Linked DNA regions of Homo sapiens: all the other regions are linked to region 1. Evidence: promoter capture Hi-C in human tissues and cell types (Jung and others, 2019). All regions are on one chromosome and are shown on one strand. Each heading gives the region's core, a stretch centred on a gene start or on the middle of the fragment in contact. The rest is flanking DNA. Distances are from core to core; before and after follow the strand shown. Region 1 holds the start of NACA (nascent polypeptide associated complex subunit alpha). Region 2 overlaps LRP1 (LDL receptor related protein 1). Region 3 overlaps MYO1A (myosin IA). Region 4 overlaps LOC124902945 (a long non-coding RNA gene).

Region 1 (3,541 bases), core at 591-3,090:
GTAAGCCGAGATCGCGCCACTGCACTCCAGCCTGGGCGACAGAGCGAGACTCCGCCTCAAAAAATAAATAAATGTTGACTGGTTTAGCTAATTCAGGTACAGCAAATATTTGTTGAGTTCTTTTGTAGGGCTGTGGGAAGATATGGGAGGCTTTTCATTAACACAACACTGATTTTACATTCTACTTTTCAAAAATACAGTTGTACAAAGCATGGTTTAAGGTGGGGTCCCAGACACCTAGAATAAATAAGCTTAGAATATCCAAGAAGTGCCAGGGGCGGTAGTTCACGCCTGTAATCCCAGCACTTTGGGAGGCCGAGGCAGGCGGATCACCTGAAGTCAGGAGGAGACCAGCCTGGCCAACATGGAGAAAGCCCGTCTCTACTAAAAATACAAAAAATAGACTGGCGTGGTGGCGCATGCCTGTAATCCCAGCTACCCGGGAGGCTGAGGCAGGAGAATCGCTTGACCCGGGAAGGGGAGGTTGCAGTGAGCCGAGATCGTGCCTTTGCACCCCAGCCTGGGCAATAAAAGTGAGACTGTCCCAAAAACAAAACAAACAGGCTGGGCATGGTGGCTCACGCCTGTAATCCCAGTAGTTTGGGAGGCCGAGGCAGGCGGATTACCTGAGGTCAGGAGTTCAAGACCAGCCTGGCCAACATGGTGAAACCCGTCTCTACTAAAAATAAAAAATTAGCCGGGGGTGGTGGCACACACCTGTAATCCCAGCTACTCGGGAGGCTGAGGCGGGACAACTGCTTGAGCCCTGGAGGCGGAGATTGCAGTGAGCCGAGATCGTGCCACTGCACTCTAGCCTGGCCGACAGAGCGACTCAAAAAAAAAAAAAAAAAAATCCAAGAAGTGCCCAAAATAGCAAGCAAAGGAATTGTATATGTGCCTATGTTCTTTTTTTCTGGGAAGGAGAATCTGCAGCTTTATAATTTCAACATCGGCTAAATTGTCGTGAACCTAAAACAATCAAAAGGGCCGGAATCTATTTAAAGAGTTTATTCAAGGGCAGTGTGAGGATGGACCAACCAGAAAACCTCCAAAGAATGGAGTCAGCCTTCAGAAGTAGAGAAGTTACGATTTCATTTATTTAGGGAGACAGAGGAGTTTTTAGCTGGATTACGTTATCCATACAAGGTTGGAACATAATTACAGAATTTGGTTACAAGAAGTGTTTTTTTTGGGGGGGGGGCGGGGGTACAGCTAACATTGTTTTACGAAGAGTTTAACACGCATGAGTTGCTGTCATCTGGTGACATCGTTTGAGTCTCTCTAGTCATTGAACAGAACAAGAAAAATCGAATTAAATTTATAATCTGAACTGAAGTTATATGTGACCCATCACATCTCTCAAGTTTTAAAATGGGTTTTTTTGTTGTTGTTGATGGGGGGGGAGAGGGTCCAGCAGCTTTTAAATGTTTTCACATCGTGTGTTCCAAAAATAACTGGTTAGCCTAAGTCACTTCCACCCTCCAATGTTGTGAATGCAGTCTCTAGCATTCGCTATTTAATGTCTTCTTCCTGCACTATTTGAGAAATCGCGAGGTCGACTTAATACCGCAGTCGCCACTTCGCGGACCGGAGGGCGGAGTCTGCTTAGTTCTGAGGACTGCGTGGGTCCGCGCAGAGAGCTCCTGCTAGGCCTGCGCGTCCCGTTCTAAATTCTTACCCTTTAGTCCTTGTCACCACCCCCGCCGTGGGAACGGCCTGACAGTCACTCGTCAAAGGAAGTGGCTGCCGGCAGCTCTTGACCCGGAATCGGATCCTAGTCCCACCCCCTCCGCTCCAGGCTTCCTTCTGCAACAGGCGTGGGTCACGCTCTCGCTCGGTCTTTCTGCCGCCATCTTGGTTCCGCGTTCCCTGCACAGTAAGTACTTTCTGTGCCGCTACTGTCTATCCGCAGCCATCCGCCTTTCTTTCGGGCTAAGCCGCCCCGGGGACTGAGAGTTAAGGAGAGTTGGAGGCTTTACTGGGCCACAGGGTTCCTACTCGCCCCTGGGCCTCCGGACAAAATGGGGTCTGCGGTTGGTGTCCTGGCAAAAGCAGGGTAGAAGGGCTGCGGGGCGGGCCCAGAATCCGAGCCTGCAGAGATGGGAGCAGTTGCAGTGTTGAGGGCGGAAGAGGAGTGCGTCTTGTTTTGGGAACTGCTTCACAGGATCCAGAAAAGGGTAAGGGGTCACAGCCTTAGAACCTGTAACACCGTTCTCCCTGTGACAAGCAAGTGTTGGACTTAAAACACCGTCTTTCCCCTCCTGGTACCCCAAAGTCGGCAAACGTAGTCCAGGAGGCCCCAGCCCAGCCAGTGTGAGTATTAGGAGTGGAGGGGGTTCACAGTAGCGTCTGAAGTCTCCCATGATCGAGAGCCAGCCCGGGATCCTCTCCCTCGGGTTGAGAATGCAGTGGGAATTGCTGGCCTTGATAGAGGCGTGAGGGTCACATCATATTTACCTCTTATTCCCAGGTGCTTTGGGGAAGGTTGTCACCAAACACCCTCACGATTTTTTTCTAACAGCCCTCCTCGGAGTTTTTAAGAATACTTATCTCCGGGTTGGGCAAGTGAATGTATCCCAATCAATTTAGGCCTCCTTTTTATTCCCTTCCTTCAGAAATGCCCGGCGAAGCCACAGAAACCGTCCCTGCTACAGAGCAGGAGTTGCCGCAGCCCCAGGCTGAGACAGGTAGGTTTCCCTACCCTCCTTGCCATTAATTAAAATTAACCCTAAAGCCATTTGGTGGGCAAAATGACCAAGGGGAAATACACTTTTTAGGAGGATGGGGTTGCAGCTTTACCAAGGAGGATAGACCGTAAAATTACTATCCTGGAGATACTTCTTTAGGGATTTGGAGTAAAAATAATATTTTTAAGATTCGTGGACGTTAAAAGTACCCTAGCTTGCTTTCTATGTTATGCCTGTCGCCTCAAAAGAAGCTCTCCTGTGGAACCCCCACCTCACATAGGAAAACTCAGCAGGGAATGGGCTCAGTGATTCTTACCTATTGGAACTAGATGACACAGGCCAAGGAGCCCGGAGCATTTGTGAAACTCCAGCCAGCAAGTTGCATCAAGGTTTTAGTTAGCAGAGCTTGGCATTGTGCCTTTATCACATGTCTGGATGAGATGTGTGCTGGTGGTAAATGTGTCCTACTGGGCCCCAGAGTCGTCCTAGGTCGGATAACTTGTTTATGGGTTGGTGGTGCTGAGATACTTCTAGTGTGCTGGAATAGTTCCTGCATCATTGTGTGAAACCCAGGATTGAAATAAATCCTTTTATCCTCAGCGTCGAAATTAACGACTGTGAAGGCTAATTTTAAATTCTGGTTAAAACATATCTCTGTAGAAAACTTAGGAGGAGGTAATGAAAAGTTCTTAAAATGATAGCCTTTCTGAGTCAGTTGTGCAGCGTTAAATGAAGGAAATCTTCAGGCTGTAATTTTCATTCTCACCTTTTTGGTTTTTTTTAAATTTCATTTGTTATTTAAGGGCAATTCCTGTCCCTTTTTGGAGTTACAGTAGAGTTGCTTATAGTTGAAA
Region 2 (3,541 bases), core at 739-3,238, 450 kb before region 1:
GCCAAACTTGACACTGGGATCGCAGACGTGGGTCACTCCCTCACAGCTCTTCTCATCGCTGGAGTCCATGCAGTCAGTGTCCCCATCGCAGCGCCACCGCAGGGGGATGCATAGTCCATCCAGCCGGCACTGGAACTCATCAGTGTGGCAGCCACCAGGGGGCCTCGTGGCTGCAGAGGGACAGTGGAGGGCCTCAGGAGGGAGGGGTTGCCCAGGTCAGCCCTCCTCATCCCTGTGCCCTGCCACCCCGGTAAGCCCAGCCTGGGGATATGAGCAGAGGCAGGCCTGGAGAGTCTGCCAAGCTTTGCTGACACTCCTTGGAAGCACCAACTCAGTAGTAGAGTCAGGAGGCATCACACCTCCAAGGGCCCCACAATCACCTCATCTAATCCCCCCATTGACACCGGAGATCTCAGCTGGAGAAGCAATTTGCTAAGGCCTGAGCCCAAATGCCCACCTCCTTAGCCTCTATTTCATTCATTCATGCCACAAATGTTTACTGAGTGCCTCCTGTGTGCCAGGCGCTGTCCTGGGGCCAGCACTGAACCAGACAAAGTCCCTACCCTCATGGAGCTTAGGTTCTAATGGGGAAGAGAGACAAGACATAACCCATAAATCTAGACTGTAATTTCAGGTATTGATAAAGCTATGGAGATAAAGCTGGGTAGAAGCTGAGAGGGATGGGGGTGATCTGTCAGGTAAGATGGTCAGGGAAGACCTCTGGGCAGAAGGAATCTGAGCAGAGGCCTGCATGAAGAGCGAGTGAGCCCAGAGGATCCCTGGAGGCACACTCCAGGCAAGGGGAACAGCCGCTGCAAAGTCTCATCTCCGAGATAGGACTACGCCAGCACTTCAGAAAACAGCACACAGGCCAGGCGCGGTGGCTCACGCCTGTAATCCCAGCACTTTGGGATGCCAAGGCGGGCGGATCACGAGGTCGGGAGATCGAGACCATCCTGGCTAACATGGTGAAACCCTGTCTCTACTAAAAATACAAAAAATTAGCCAGGCGTGGTGGCAGGCACCTGTAGTCCCAGCTACTTGGGAGGCTGAGGCAGGAGAATGGCGTGAACTGGGAGGCGGAGCTTGCAGTGAGCTGAGATTGCGCCACTGCACTCCAGCCTGGGCGACAGAGAGACTCCATCTCAAAAAAAAAAGAAAGAAAAGAAAACGCCACAGCTGCCCGGGAGGCAGAGCTTGCAGTGAGCCGAGATCACGCCACTGTACTCCAGCCTGAGCGACAGAGGGAGACTCCATCTCAAAAAAAAAAAAAAAGAAAAAAGAAAACGCCACAGCTGGAGTAGAGTGCAGGGGGAGGGGAGGGCAGGAATGCAGGTCAGAGGGGTAGGGGTGGGGGCCCTGCAGGCCGTGCAGAGGGGCTTGGCATTTGTTCCAAGGGTGCAGGGAGCCAGTACAGGCTGGAGGGCAGGGCCAGGGCATGATCTGACTTATGTTGTCAGGATCACTCTGGCTGCTGTCCTGAGATCTGACTCAGGAGGCCAGGAGAGGAGCAGGAGCACTGCCTGGTGGAGCCCCACACTCATACACTCATGCTGCCACAGACACCCCGCTCCTCCCCCTTCCCTACCCTGGACCCAGCTGATGCTCTCATCTCATGCCGGGACTTTCAGCAGCAGTCTCTGAACTGATTTTCCTTTCTTGGGGCCCCTGAACCTCTTCTCAATCTAATCTTCCTCTAGGGCTGTGTTCCGAAATCACCTCCTACATCACAGCACCTTCCGGCTTGGAAATCCTTCAAAGGTTCCCAGTGCCTCCCAAATCAAGCCTCTCACGATTTACACCTGCTGTCATCATCTGCCCCCTTTGAGGACAGCCTCATTCCCCACTGTCCCTGCACGAGCCTTTCCCTCGGTCTGAACGGCTCCACCTGGCCCCACTGTCACCCTACGGAAGTGCTCAGTTTCACCCTCTAAGTCTTGACGACAGCATTCTCCGGACCATGCCATCCCCACTGGAAGACCCTCCCTCCTGTCCATTTACCTGCAGTCTAAACACAACTCCTCCTGAATGGTCCCAGACCATCCAGCTCATACCATAGTTAACAACTGCTACCAATAGTGACACCCTGCTCCTCCACGCCAGGCCTCACATACCTCAGCTCATTTCATAAAGGAGGATGCCCAGGCTCAGGGGAAGCAACTTGTCCAAATTTGCCCAGCTTATCTGGGAGCGGCAGGGAGCTCTTCTCACCACACCACACAGCCTCCAGAGGCCCCTTCTCAGAACCCTAAGGGATATCACCTGTGCCCCTCACCCTCCCCTTCACAGAGATAGCCCTGGAGACGCAATTACTATTTCCCAAGCTTCCTGTGGCCTTCTCTGTCCTCCCTCTCAGGGCAGGGCTCAAGGTGGGCACTCAACGCTGTCCAGTCTTCTCCTACTAGGGTGGGAATGTGCCCTAACTCTATAAGGCAGAGGCTGTAATCTAGTGGTCCATGGGTCAGATGAGGCCTGCAGGAAGAGTTTGGTCTGTAGTTTTTTTTAAACTTTTTTTTTCTTTTGAGACAAGGTCTTATTCTGTCACCCAGGCTGGAGTGCAGTGGCGAGCTCACAGCTCACTGCAGCCTCAACCTCCTGGGCTCAACCTCTCACCTCAGCCTTCTGAGTAGCTGGGACTACAGGCATGTGCCTCCATGCCCAGCTAATTTTGTTTATTTTTTGTAGAGAAAGGGGTCTCACTATGTTGCCCAGGCTGGTCTTAAACTCCTGGAAACAAGTGATCCTCCTGCCTTGCCTCCCAAAGTGATAGGATTACAGGTGTGAGTCAACACACCCAGCCTTTTTTTTTTTTCTTTTCTTTTTTCAAGATGGGTTCTCCCTATGTTAACCAGGTTGGTCTTGAACCCCTGGCCTCAAGTGATCCTCCCACTTCACCCTCCCAGAGTGCTGGGATTATAGGCATGAGCCACCATGCCTGGCCTGCACCCAGCCTTTTAAAACTTCTAAAATCAACTGCCAGTTGGTATGGCTTGAATTGTGTTCCCTAAAAAGATATTAGTCCTATCCCATAATACCTGTGAATATGACTTTATTTGGAAATAGTGTCTTTGCAGATGGTCAACTTAAGATGAGGTCATAAGGGTGTATCCTAATCCAATATGACAGGTGTCCTCACAGAAAGGGGAAATGGGGATCTGGTGACAGACATGCCCACAGGGAGGACACCGTGTGAAGATGAAGGCAGAGATCGGGTCAAGCTTCGACAAGCCAAGGAGCTGCAAAGATTGCCAGCAAACCGCGGAGGCTGGGGAGAGGCCTGGGACAGAATCTCCCACACGGCCTCAGAAGGAACCCACCCTGCCAACAGTTGGGTCTGGGACTTCCAGCCTCCAGAACTGTGAGACGAGAGAAACTAATACTGTAGTGTTAAAAATTTGGTAGTTTTCACATAAAAATCTGCACATCTTCCAGAGCTAGGAAGCCAGCATTCCTTGAGAGGGCCCATCCCTCCAGAAAACTAGGTCCCCACCGCCCCCGAGGCTGGGCCCCAGAGGCCAGGGCACTGGGAGCCTTGTGGAGC
Region 3 (3,541 bases), core at 762-3,261, 310 kb before region 1:
AGTATGACCACACCATGGGCCTCAGCTGCTTCCGCATCTGCCACTATGCGGGCAAGGTGAAATGGCAGGGCTGGAGGGCAGAGATTAGGGCTCAGGCCCAGACTGAAGTCAATGGGGGAGGAACCCGGGGAAGGTGAGAGTCTGGAATACTTCACAATGAGACTGGGAGGGCCAAGTGCTGGGACAAGGTTGTGGGGTCTCCAAACCAATAGCTGCTCCTTTACAGGTGACATACAACGTGACCAGCTTTATTGACAAGAATAATGACCTACTCTTCCGAGACCTGTTGCAGGCCATGTGGAAGGCCCAGCACCCCCTCCTTCGGTCCTTGTTTCCTGAGGGCAATCCTAAGCAGGCATCTCTCAAACGCCCCCCGACTGCTGGGGCCCAGTTCAAGAGTTCTGTGGCCATCCTCATGAAGAATCTGTATTCCAAGAGCCCCAACTACATCAGGTGACATGCTGGCATGCAGGGGAACATGCTACATATGTGATGGCACGTGCAGGGTCCATGCGCTGTAGAACACGTCCATGTGGGGGTGCTTCTGGAATAAGGATGTCAGAGGTCCTTTCCTCACAGAAAACAGTCAGATAAGGAGCTGAGAGTCCCACAGGGGGAGAGCATCAGATTCGATAGGGAATACATAGAAGTGAGTGAAACTGGGGAGGCCAGTGTGTCTACTTTCTTTGAAACTTTTCAGTGAAGTGCACCGTGTGCAGCATAGGGGAATATGATGGGTTACACTGGCAATGATGTCAGCTCCTGAAGGCTGTGCCTTACCCCACCTCCCACCAGGTGCATAAAGCCCAATGAGCATCAGCAGCGAGGTCAGTTCTCTTCAGACCTGGTGGCAACCCAGGCTCGGTACCTGGGACTGCTGGAGAACGTACGGGTGCGACGGGCAGGCTATGCCCACCGCCAGGGTTATGGGCCCTTCCTGGAAAGGTACCGATTGCTGAGCCGGAGCACCTGGCCTCACTGGAATGGGGGAGACCGGTAAGACCCCATGGGGAGACTGGGCATCAGGAAAGGGCAGTGCAGGAAACATCTCTGGGGGAAGAGACCTGGAGGTGCAGTGCACATCTGCTGAAGCTGGGTGAATGGATACTTTGAGAAATGAATTGAATGATCACTTCTTGGAGGCTGAAAGGATTAGGGGAAAGGTGGAAGAGGACTTTCTCCTGAGATACCCCTCTGCAGCTTTCTGTCATTTGCTTCCATAGGGAAGGTGTTGAGAAGGTCCTGGGGGAGCTGAGCATGTCCTCGGGGGAGCTGGCCTTTGGCAAGACAAAGATCTTCATTAGAAGCCCCAAGACTGTGAGTTAGAGAGTGCATTAGCATTTGGTGAGGGTAGAAGGTGGAAGAGCCCACCTGAGAAAGGCTGGAGGGGGAGGGAGCGTGTATAACCTGGAATGGATCACTGTCCAGTGGATGGGAAGCTTCCTGTCTGCAGGAACCGTATCCCTGGGAATTGAACTCTTGGGTTCCTACACTGCCCTGAGCCTGGGGAGCTTGGTGCTGCATGGCTCTAAGTGCCTTTGCCTGAGGCAGAGCCCTTGAGGGTTGGGGTGATCAACTTCTAGCTTACTGCCTGCTACAAAGTTAGAGTTAAGTAGATACTTGTTTACTGAATGAATAAATGAGCAAACTAAGAAGACAAAGGAATGATCAAATAAGGCCTGGCTGGGAAGCCTCAGTACTGTGGGGTATAGGAGAGGACAGCACTGTTCCCCTGAGCCAGTCTCTCTGTCACCCCCTTCCACCTCTCCACAGCTTTTCTACCTCGAAGAACAGAGGCGCCTGAGACTCCAGCAGCTGGCCACACTCATACAGAAGATTTACCGAGGCTGGCGCTGCCGCACCCACTACCAACTGATGCGAAAGAGTCAGATCCTCATCTCCTCTTGGTTTCGGGGAAACATGGTACGGTCATCCCCAAAGTCCCACTCTGTTCACTCTAATAGGGAAGATGGAAGGTGGCTCAGGAGGTGCCATTTTTCTAACAACTCCTATGTTTTCTACAGCAAAAGAAATGCTATGGGAAGATAAAGGCATCCGTGTTATTGATCCAGGCTTTTGTGAGAGGGTGGAAGGTAATGGAGAGTGGAAGAGAGGTTTCCTCACATTGTTTCTCCTGGATTGTGTCACCTGCTGGCTAGAGCAGCAGAGAGCTAGTCCTGCCTGCACCCAGGCCGCACCTCTGTGTATCAGCCGGTCCATGTGTGGGTGGGTGTCTGGGAGTGAGAGGCCTGTAGGGGAGACCTGTAGAGGTGTCTGGGTGGGTAGATGCCTAACTTGGCAGCAGAACTTTGCCTTCTGCTCTAAGTGTCCTCACTGCCAACTTGTCTGATTTTACTTCCAACTTCCAGCTACAGTCTCAGCTCTTTATCTTACTCAGGTCTTTGCGTGGTTGAAAAATAGTACAACCTCTTCTAGAATCTGCCTATCTTCACTTTGGCTCCTTTCTTGTACTTTTCTGCCAGGCCCGAAAGAATTATCGCAAATATTTCCGGTCAGAGGCTGCCCTCACCTTGGCAGATTTCATCTACAAGAGCATGGTAAGTGGTAGGGGTTAGGGTGGATGTTAGGGATGGAGCAGGGAGGCACAGGTTTGGGAGAGGGGTTTGAGAAGAGGCAACCCAAAGCTTTCCCCCAAGAGTTTCCTCAGTCTGCATGTACTTAAGTCCTAGGAGAAGAGGGCAGCTACCTGCAGGGACCAGGCCCCAGTGCCTTGGACTCGGGGGCAGAATCAGATAGCATTTTGGCATGAGTGGACAATCCAGGCAACCTTGTGGCAGGAAGGGGTCTCAGCACACCCACCATCTGGTCTATGGTCAAATAGCCTTGTGAAGATCCTGGGGCTGGATGTTTAACAACTGTTGAAGAGGCTAAGCCTCATTGAAGAGTAGAGTGATCCACACATTAACTAGCTCAACCTCCCAAGATCCATTTTAGGGTTGGGGTGAGAGTAGGCGAATTGTATCTTCCTTCTACTTCCTCTGAAACTATTGTCAGCAAGTCAGAAAGTAAATCTCAGGAAGGACCTATCCTAATTCTGGAGGACGTGGGTCAGGCTGGATGGGAAGACCCACCTGGAAGGCCTACATATTCAAACTTACAGACAGCTCCCAGGGGGAGAAAAACAGGGACAGAGAAGAGTAACTTCTGGAGACTTCAGTCAGATAGCAATAGTGCTTCTGAGAAGTGTCAGGGAGGAAACCAGGGAGGGAGAAGCACTTCCAATGAAACCTTGGGAAAGGCCAGAGAGAAGGAGGAAGAGCATGGGATCTTGGACAGAGGCTGGAGCAAATTGGTAATTGACCTCCGCTGATTGGGTTTTTGACCATAGTTAGGACCCTGACTGTGCTCATTCAGACATAAGACATGTTTGCTTGCAGCCCCTCTTTGTTGTTTGAGAGTCTGGATCCCTCAGCTCAAGAGAGGAATGGGGGCTCTGAAGCTCTGGACCTCTTTTTTGCCTTCCTGAGCCTTCATTTGCTCGTCCTCTTCCCCTTCCCAGGGAAGTTCCATCTTCCAGGTC
Region 4 (3,541 bases), core at 691-3,190, 260 kb before region 1:
ACCACATTTTCTTTATCCTTTTATTCGTTGATGGACACTTAGGTTGATTCCATGTCTTTGCTATTGTGAATAGGGCTGTGATAAACATACTAGTGCAGGTGTCTTTTTAATGTACTGATTTCTTCCCCTTTGAGTAAATACCCAGTAGTGGGATTGCTGGGTCGAATGGCAGTTCTACTTTTAGTTTTTTGAAAAATCTGCATACTGTTTTCCATAGAAGTTGTACTAGTTCACATTCCCACCAGCAATGTCTAAGAGTTCTCTGTGCTCCACATTCTTGCCAACATCTGTTTTTTTTTTTATCTTTTTAATAATAGCCATTCTGACTGGGGTACGATGATATCGCGTCATGGTTTTTATTTGCATTCCTCTGATGATTAGTGATGTTGAGCATTTTTTCATATATCTGTTGGCCATTTGAAAAATGTCTTTTGAAAAATGTCTTCTTTTGAAAAATGTCTATTCATGTCATTTGCCCACATTTTAGTGGGATTATTTGTGGGGTTTTTTTTTTTCTTGCTCGAGTTCTTTGTATATTTTGGATATCTCCCCTGTCAGATGAATAGTTTACAAATATTTTCTCCAGTTCTGCGGGTTGTTCATTCTGTTGCTTATTTCTTTTGTTGTGCAGAGCTTTTTAGTTTAGTTAAGTCCCAGTTGTTTATTTTTGTTTTTGTTGCCTGTGCTTCTGAGATCTTAGTCATAAATTCTTTGCCTAGTCCAATGTCCAGGAGACTTTTCCTTATACTAGATAGTAGATTTTTCCTGCAATACTAGATTTTCTTCTAATAATTTAATAATAGTTTTGGGTCTTATATGTAAGTCTTTAATCCATCTTGAGTTGATTTTTGTGTCTGGTGAGAGATAGGAGTTTAATGTCAGTTTCTTAATATGTAAAGTGAGGATAATGATGCTTCCCTTACAGGTTATTATATGGGATACATGAGATAATATATACAAGCATGCTCCTTTTCCACTTCATGGGGATAAGGAAAAAGGAATCCCATCTTGTGGAATTGACACTGAGAGACCTCTCTAGTCCTATTACCACCAGCCATTTTTTTCCTCTCTGAATTAGATCAACATGAGCCTCCTCTTTTATTTGGCTGTCTTGGGTTGTGTTTTTTACATAGAAGGGTGGGAACATTCCCAAATGTCACTATGAATTACCACAGAGAAATGTAGTAATAGTAACAGCTGATGTTTATTGAATACGCACCATTGGCTAGACACAGTTGTAAGGGGCTTTATCCATATCACCTCATTTAATCCTCATAACAACTTCATGGAGTGGGTACTACCATCGACAAGGAAACTGAAGCACAGAAACTTTAAATAACTTGCCCCAGTCACACAGCTAGTAGGTCAATAAGCCCATATTACAAGGATTCTTGAGCTGGATTCCATGCAGCTAATGGTTTTAGGTGTGAACTGTATGAAAAGTATAAGCAAGTTTTTGATTGTTGTGTTATGTGGGGGGCTTATAACCTTCCTTAGATTCTCGAAGGGGCCCATGATGTCCAAAAGCTTTAAAAAAAAATGACCCTTGGAGAGCTTCTGCTAGACTGGGGTCAGGATAAAAACAGCAATGTTGGGTATCCACTTGTGTGGAGCTGACTCAGCCCTGGGAATTCTAGGAAATTTCTTGCATGAGGAAGGAGGTGTCTCCTTCATGAAGGCTGAGGGATTTGTAGGATGATCTCGGAGGGATTTGAAAAGGGGAAAGTGAATGTCTTTGCTTCCCATTCCCTATCTTTCACTAGATGAAGGACAACTGTTTCCTCTGTGATTTCCCAAGTGTGAGAAGGGAGGGTGTGACATCAGTCTAAGGAAGAGGAAGCTTGAAAAGACTGATAAGAGACTGGAAGGGCCCCAGGTACTATTAATATCCCTCTGCCGCCTACAGCACTAGCAGCCTCCCCGCATGCCGCCACCCTTCCCCCTTCCTTTGGTCTCCTATCTCTCCCAGCTTCTGTTTCTCCCTCACTCTCCCATCTCCTGATCTGCACCCCTCCCCCAGCCTCTCTGTAGATGTGGTAAGTCTCTTGTTGGTTCCAGATTTCTTCCGTTTCTGTTAACTTTTGTTGAGCACCTAATGTATGCTGGTCAGAAATTCTCCAGTGCTTCCCAAGACCCCATCTTTCTAAGTTTTCACCATTTTAATAAAGGCATATGGATTCTTAGACTCCCTGAAATTGGAGATGGGAGGACTTGACAAAGTCATCTTGATTCTCCTCCCTCGTTATAAAGATGAGAAAAATGGAGGCTTTAGGAAATCTCATATTGTCGCATGATGTAAGAAATAGTGATGAAAATGGAAAGCGAAGCCAGATGTTGCAGTGTCAGCTACCTCAACATTCCTTCATCTCTGCTAGAAGCTAGCACTGCCGGGGCTGGAAATACAAAAATGACTGGACTCAGTCTCGGAGCCCTCAAGGGGCTCCGAGTCTGTCAAACCTCTAGTATGCAGCACACTCAAGGCACCATCCATGTTGCTTAATTAACAGTAGTCCAGTCTCTTACCAGCCAGCAGTCTTGCTGTTTCCCTCCTTCTTGGAGGATCCGTGCAGGGAGATATGGGGGCTCCCCGATGCTGGAGAGAGTGGCCATTGGGATGAGCTGAAGAGCCTTGGCTGATCCCAGGCCGATGCCCACGTCGTGACTGCAGGGCTAGAGAAGAACCACCAGGGGGCGCGCGGCTCTTTGCTAGCCTCTGGTTTCTGCAGGAAACCTCTCCTTCCCCCTCCCAGTCCATCTCCACTTCTTCCTTCAATTAGGGGACAGAAATTGGGCAAACATGGACAGTGGGAGAGAGGCCCAGTGCAAATAAACCCTGGATTATTCTGTCCCACACCTACTCCCCCAGCTCCCTGCCCCTCTACATCCTGCCCACCAGTTATGAAATAGTTTCCTCGACCTCACACCGAGGGACCCTCCATGGACAGCAGAGGTCCAGTCTGTACCCCTTTCTGTAGTCTCCTGAGAAGGAGATCCCTCCTGTCCATCAACACCCTGATACAAACTGAAGTAATACCTTTACAGTTACTAGGGTTCATATCCTTCCCTGCTTGGGCAAGGTTTTGGACCACCATCCTCATTGTCCTTGTTCAAATGAGCAATGTTTTTAGCCTCTCAGTGTCTGAGGGGTCCAGATCCTGGATGTGGGCCCTGACAGGGGAGGGCAGAGGGCAGTGGAGCCAGCACCCAGGGCATATCAGGAGGTGAGCAGGTGAGCCCTGTGACACCTGCATAAGTCATTCCATTCCCCTTCCCAGCAGCCCTGGGTACTTCCTTCCTGTGGGTTCCAAGGCTCCATTCCCTTCTTTCCCCTTTCTTTACCTGTGAGGTTGGACTCTCCCTGTGGGTGTTCCACATCTTTCTGCCCCAGAAAACTACTGTAGCAGGAGGGGACTTGCTCTTGTTCACTTTTTTGCCTTCTCCTTCTCATCCTAGAGAGCCTGATCGTGCCCTACTTTTCTGGGGAGTGATTGATTCTGGATGCTGGGTGGGATGAGGAAACTCAGGCTCAGAGCAGGATTTC

What was found. Contacts are between HindIII fragments. The study calls those that stand out against the background at their distance.
Region 2: a fragment that was not itself captured here is called in contact with the fragment with the promoter of NACA in region 1 in 3 of the 25 tissues and cell types used here (dorsolateral prefrontal cortex, lymphoblastoid cells and mesenchymal stem cells).
Region 3: a contact is called between a fragment that was not itself captured here and the fragment with the promoter of NACA in region 1, in 3 of the 25 tissues and cell types used here (bladder, lymphoblastoid cells and mesenchymal stem cells).
Region 4: a fragment that was not itself captured here is called in contact with the fragment with the promoter of NACA in region 1 in 12 of the 25 tissues and cell types used here (H1 embryonic stem cells, IMR-90 fibroblasts, adrenal gland and 9 more).

Annotation. Positions count from the first base shown.
Region 1 is chr12:56,723,598-56,727,138 of GRCh38, reverse strand. NACA (nascent polypeptide associated complex subunit alpha) reads left to right here and starts at 1,840. Exons shown (of 9, transcript NM_001365896.1): 1 at 1,840-1,876; 2 at 2,616-2,687. The coding sequence starts at 2,618. RefSeq lists enhancers at 1,765-1,894, 1,985-2,034, 3,094-3,213. The HindIII fragment of the contact is 10,398 bases long and covers 1-2,033 here.
Region 2 is chr12:57,169,797-57,173,337 of GRCh38, reverse strand. LRP1 (LDL receptor related protein 1) reads right to left here. Exons shown (of 89, transcript NM_002332.3): 21 at 1-170. Among named protein-coding and RNA genes, the nearest start is that of MIR1228, 23 kb to the left of the region's middle. RefSeq lists a silencer at 7-220. The HindIII fragment of the contact is 3,835 bases long and covers 71-3,541 here.
Region 3 is chr12:57,035,324-57,038,864 of GRCh38, reverse strand. It overlaps MYO1A (myosin IA), which reads left to right. Exons shown (of 28, transcript NM_005379.4): 16 at 1-56; 17 at 227-453; 18 at 796-996; 19 at 1,224-1,317; 20 at 1,774-1,923; 21 at 2,025-2,093; 22 at 2,484-2,558. Among named protein-coding and RNA genes, the nearest start is that of MYO1A, 13 kb to the left of the region's middle. The HindIII fragment of the contact is 4,199 bases long and covers 1-3,541 here.
Region 4 is chr12:56,986,857-56,990,397 of GRCh38, reverse strand. All of the region lies in intron 2 of LOC124902945 (a long non-coding RNA gene), which reads left to right. Among named protein-coding and RNA genes, the nearest start is that of ACKR5, 5.9 kb to the left of the region's middle. The HindIII fragment of the contact is 5,723 bases long and covers 1-3,541 here.